Regions from separate parts of the Homo sapiens genome. Here region 1 is linked to region 2. The links are contacts of gene promoters, found by promoter capture Hi-C in human tissues and cell types (Jung and others, 2019). All regions are on one chromosome and are shown on one strand. Each heading gives the region's core, a stretch centred on a gene start or on the middle of the fragment in contact. The rest is flanking DNA. Distances are from core to core; before and after follow the strand shown. Region 1 has its middle 31 kb from the start of LINC00368. Region 2 holds the start of ARHGEF7 (Rho guanine nucleotide exchange factor 7).

Region 1 (2,700 bases), core at 199-2,698, 51 kb after region 2:
GAGCAGGACTGAGAGTTTATTAAAAAGCTTTAGAGCAGGAATTAAGGGAAGTAAAGTACACTTGGGAGAGGGTGAAGTAGGCGACTTGAGAGATCCAAGTGCAGGGTACAACCCCCCACTTTGGGTTTTATACATGGGCATGGTTCAGGGTTTCCATTTCCCCTTCCTTGACCTTTCCTTGGGGTGGGCTGTCCGCATGCGCAGTGACCGGCCAGCGCTTGGGCGGGGCCGCGTGCGCGCTGTATTACTGAAGTTGTGCACATGCTCACCTGAAGTATTTTGCCCTTACCTGTCTCGTGTTCCTGGAGGAAGGTCACACACCAGTTAAACTACATTTTACCTCTTAGTGCACAGGCCTAAGCCACCTCGCCCCACTCCTGAGATCTTATAGAAAGCTGCTGATCAGTTTCAGGTGTTTTCCAGCTATTGGGAGCCCGCCTTTCCCTGGCACAGCTGCAACCAATTACTATTTTAGAGAACCAGTTTAACCACTGCCTGAGTATCACCTGATGGTCTCCAGAGGTTCCTGGTGGGGTGGGCCCTCTCCTGCCCTGCTCATGTCTGCCTCGCCACTGACTAACAATGAGTGGAGTTCCACAGTACTTGTCTTTTTGTGACTAGCTAATTGTTTTATGTTTATTTTTAACAAAAATTCCTGGACAGTGTTTTGATAAATGATTTTCATGCAGCCTGTTTTATAAACTCCCTGGTTCTTTCTGTGATTGCTATTTTTCTCTTCCTCTCTGTTTAAATGCTTCATTCTACCCTTTCTTCCTGCTCTTGCTTCAGTGCATTTTGTTCTTCCTTTCCTATTTTTTCCTCTTTCTTCCTGTTTTCCATGATGTAACTGGAAGGCAATGTTAGAAATCAATGAGCAGCAGATCCCCCCGAGAACTAAGCACTGCAGTGGGGAAGCCACCCCAGCTTTGTTTTCCGCCACTGCAGACTCATCTGGAAGAATCAGTGTTTTTTCCTTCTCAGCCAGATGGCTGCCTTTGTGTTTCCACCATGGGCCTTCTCTTACCCATGAGAAGGTCTCTTTCCTGCTTTGAGGGAGAGGAGACCATGCCAGGTGCCATGTGGGCTGCCCTGAAGAAAACTGTATGGGCTCACTGAGGCTGCCACATGTTTTACTTTCTGAGAAGATGAGATGAGCCCTCCACATTTCAAGGCTGAGAGCAGAAATGTGACCAGGTGCTGGAGCCTCCAGGACAGTGAAGGAAGGGGTCTGGGTCCCTGCTTAGCCCTGAAGGAAAAGGAGCAGCTTCCAGAAGGCAGTAGGGATGTGGGTGCTGTGACAGGCCGTGCCAGCTTGGTCCTGCATGTGGTTAGAAACCAGGAGCCTTGGCCACCAAGTGGAACCAAAATCTCCCATCCCTGTCTTGTTCTCTTTGCATAGTGTGGACGAAAAGCGTCAAGCTCTGTAAAACATTTGAAGAGGTTTATTCTGACCAAATATGAGGGACCAATGACTTGTGACACAACCTCAGGAGGTCAGGAGAACATGTGCCCAAGGTAGTCAGGCTACACCTTGGTTTTATACATTTTAGGGGGACTTAAGACATCAATCAATACAGGTAAGGTGTACATTCGTTGGGTCAGGAAAGGTGGGACAACTTGAAGCAGGGGCTTCCAGGTCACAGGTAGACTCAAAGAATTTCTGATTGGCAATTGGTTGAAAGAGTTTTTATCTAAAGACCTGGAATCAATAGAAGGGAGTGTCTGGGTTATAATAAGGGATTGTGGAGAGCCAGGTTTTGTCATGCAGATGAAGCCTCCAGGTAGCAGGCTTCACAGAGAATAGATTGTAAATGCTTCTTATCAGACTTAAAGTCTGTGTTGATGTTAATGCTGGTCAGCTGTGCCTGAATTCCAAAAGGGCGGAAGGTATATTGAGGCATGTCCAACCCCTGCTTCCCATCATAGCCTGAACTCGTTTTTCAGATTAACTTTGGAATGCCCTTGGCATTCCAAGAAGAGGGGTTCATTCAGATGGTTAGGGGGCTTAGCATTTTATTTTTGCTTTACACCAGAAGCTTCCCTGAGGGGCCTGGGCCCTGGGCTTCAGGGCCTCTGCTCTCAGGCCTTGCCCAGAAGAATGGAAGATGCAGTGAGGGACCTGGAGGAGAGTGGACTGCTGTGTGTGGGCTTCGTGGCACACAGGGAAAAGCACAGGCTCTGGGTGAGTTTAAATCCTGGCTCTGCTGCCTGCAAGATGTAAGACTCCAGCATGTTATTTAATCTCTCTGAGCCTCTGTCACCCCATAAATAAAATGAGGTAATTTCTAGCACACAGGATCATTGACATGAATAAAATAACTGATGTTTACATGGCACTTGCTACATCAGTGGCACTGATTGCTGGTCATATAAAGCAAGGAAAAAAGATGTTTCCTCTTTTTATTCATTTCTACATCCTGCCAGTTTCCCTACACATATGCATTATAGATGACGAATAATTGAGAAAATCTGCAAGGACAAGGCTCGTATTCTTCCTGACCCATTTCTTGTTCAGAGTATAAGGTAACTTGTGCCGCACGTGTACCCAATATGCCGTGGGGTTATAGGATGTTAAATTGGACATTTACATGATACAATAAATATGACATTCCAGAGTGATGTTCTAGACCAAGATTCAAATCTTTAAGGAAGGGATTTAACCAAAAGTTGATTACATAAACATTGTTCGCATCACCCACA
Region 2 (2,700 bases), core at 150-2,649:
CATCCTGTATGGGGGCCAATACACCCCACTTAAAAACTGAAATCCTTCTTCCTAATTATGGTACACTTCAATTTCTATATTTAACACCTTTTAAATAACTGTTGATCTTAACGCTATATATTGGCCACCCCCACCCCCACCCCACCCCCCGAAGAAACACCCTGGGAATAAGATTTTAGTATTTTGAGCTACAGGGAGACATCGTTTTTAGAAACTCTCCTGCCTCCTCGGCCCTGCTGGCCGGCTTGTGGGCGATGAAAACAAACTTTAATCACTTCCAGAGATTCGGGTCAGGGTTCACACGCTCCAGCCTGGGAACCACCAGCCGGAAGGGAGAAGCAGTGCCTGCAGGACTAAAGGTTCTGTTCAGAACGAGGGAGGGACCTGAGAACGAAATCTAGAATTTTAACAAGCCTTGAAGAGTGCCAGGACTTAGACCCTGTGTCTGCCGTCCTCTCGGCTCGGATAGGTGGGGAATTTTCTCGAGGGGAAAGTAGTAGATCGTTTCACAGCGCAGCCCTCAGCTACAGATGCGTGCCTCTTTAAAAATACAGAGCAACCGGTCAATTAACCTGGGAGGCGAAACTCACGCAACGCCACCGGCAAGAACTGTCCACACAAAGCCAGCGGAGTGAGCCGCACCGCGTCGGAACGCGGTTTCCGATGCGGCTGCTGCCAGGGAGCGGGGCCGGCCCCCCACGCGGAGGGGCAACTTAGCGTTCGGGCGGCGCAGAAGCCCCGTCTCCTCGCTGCGGTGCACTCTCCTTCCCGGGGACCCCCGCCGCCCGCGCCGCCCCTCCCCCCGACCCCGCTCCCCGGCCCCCTCCCCCTGCCCCGCACACAATGGCGCCCCCCGAGCTCCCGCCACGGTCCTGGCGCCGGCCGCGCCGCCGCTCCGCGCACAAAGGAGGGCGCACGGGTTTCCCGAGCGCGGCCGGCCTCAGGTGCTCCGCGCGCATCCCGGGCCGCAGCGGGCCGGACCGGGGGGCGCGGGCGGGGGCGCGGGCCGGGACTTACTTTCTCGATGGTCCCGGGGAGCAGGCGCTCCAGCAGCCTGCAGAGGACCACCCCATCCTTCAGCGACGCCTGCAGAAAGCCCTCCGGGTCCGAGATGGTTTTTTTGGGCGACTCCAGCACCCCCAGAGTGATGAGCCACGTAACGGTTTGCTCGGCGGAATTCATCGCTGCGGCCCGGGAGGCAGGCGGGGAGGGGCGCGCGCCTTCACCTCGGAGCGGCGGCCCGGCCCGCGGCCCCCGCCGCCGCCGCCGCCGCCTCGCCCATCGAGCGGCCGGCGCCGGCGATTGGCTCGGCGCGGCCCAGCAGGTCCGGCCCGGCCCGCTTCTCCGTGCGCCCCGGCCCGCTGTCAGGCGCCTTCTCAGGAGCGGCTCGGGAACCTGCGGGCGCCCGCCGCCGCCCCCCGGCCTCGGCCGCCGTCGCCCAATGACATCACCGCCAGGAGAAGAAAGACGCGGCCGTCCGCCCGGCCCGCGCCCGGCCCGCGCCGCCCCGCGCCCTGCGCAGCCTCCGCTCCAGGCCGTGCGCGGGGCGGCGGCGGCGGCTGGGAGCGGGCGGGGAAGGGAAAGGGGAAGGGGAGCGGGGAGCGGATGGGGAGGGAGCCGGGGGTGGGGGCGGGCGCGCACCTGCGCTTACCTGCCCCGGGCCCGCCGTGCGCCCCGCGCCCCTGGCCGGGGCACTCGGAAGCCTTTGTTTATGTTTTGAATTCGTGAGCGTTGAAATGATGAAGTACTTCCCAGAATGCTCTTTTTATTTTTGCCGGTTTTATTTCAAGGTGGCGGGGACAGGCTGAAAACGAGACGTTTGTTTCGCTTTGCTACCTTGCAAGCCGGTCATGACGGAACAGAAATGATGGTTCCATCTGAAGCCATATGGGTCTGAATCGGGAGGAACCGACTCTCCGGAGCGCGGCGCCGACCTCACCGGCAGGGCAGGGGCCTGCGCGACTCTGCTCTAGACGGACGGTGACGCTTCAGACCCTGCCGGGGGAAGGTCAAGGAAACGGCGTGGCCTGAAGTGGGGCTGTGCAGAGGGCCGGGCCGGGCCGGGCCGGGCGCCTGGCTGCGTCTCGGGGACGCCGAAGATCTGGGCTGTGAAAGCAGCAGGCCGAACCTGGAGAGCCCAGACGGCAAGTGTCGCGTCATGCGCGAGCTTCCTCGAACAACTGATGACACGCACACATTGACATGCGAGGAAGAAATGGAGCCTCTTCTTAAAAGGACACGAGTCTCCACTCACTCCATCCACTGTCCCTGGGCGCTCCCCCAGTTTGCTCGCTATGACCCGCGGGCAGTTTAACAAGCAAAGCACTTAGTCTATGCCAGGCACATACATTAATCCATTCAATGACAAAGGCTAGAAAGCATATAAAGCTTCCAAAAATAATCAGAGGCTTAAGTCGTCTCCCCCTGCCTTCTGCCGGTGGATTTCTCTTGCAATCACTAATTGCTTTTATTTCTAGCCTTGAGTTAAGTGGTTAAAATTTTCTTTGCAAATACAAAAAATATTCAAATGGCAGTATGAATTCTGGATTACGAGGACAATGTGCTCAGTGATAACAGCGACTGGTTAGGAACCGTCACAAAGTGCTGTCTACTGCCTCGCCTCCCATCATGGTCCCCTTTTACTGATCAGATGCCGAACAAGTGGCAGAGATAAGACCCAAAGCTCGGCTCCTACCAGGA

The links. The method cuts DNA at HindIII sites, captures the fragments that hold promoters and counts their contacts. A contact is called where the count stands out against the background at its distance.
Region 1: a contact is called between a fragment that was not itself captured here and the fragment with the promoter of ARHGEF7 in region 2, in 1 of the 25 tissues and cell types used here (mesendoderm cells).

Annotation. Positions count from the first base shown.
Region 1 is chr13:111,063,426-111,066,125 of GRCh38, reverse strand. No RefSeq gene overlaps it. Among named protein-coding and RNA genes, the nearest start is that of LINC00368, 31 kb to the left of the region's middle. RefSeq lists an enhancer at 1,547-2,077. The HindIII fragment of the contact is 5,156 bases long and covers 1-2,700 here.
Region 2 is chr13:111,114,009-111,116,708 of GRCh38, reverse strand. It overlaps ARHGEF7 (Rho guanine nucleotide exchange factor 7), which reads right to left and starts at 1,399. Exons shown (of 22, transcript NM_001354046.2): 1 at 1,018-1,399. The coding sequence starts at 1,182. It overlaps ARHGEF7-AS2 (ARHGEF7 antisense RNA 2), which reads left to right and starts at 1,031. Exons shown (of 2, transcript NR_046667.1): 1 at 1,031-1,162; 2 at 1,791-2,700. RefSeq lists a silencer at 1,437-1,526. The HindIII fragment of the contact is 8,096 bases long and covers 1-2,564 here.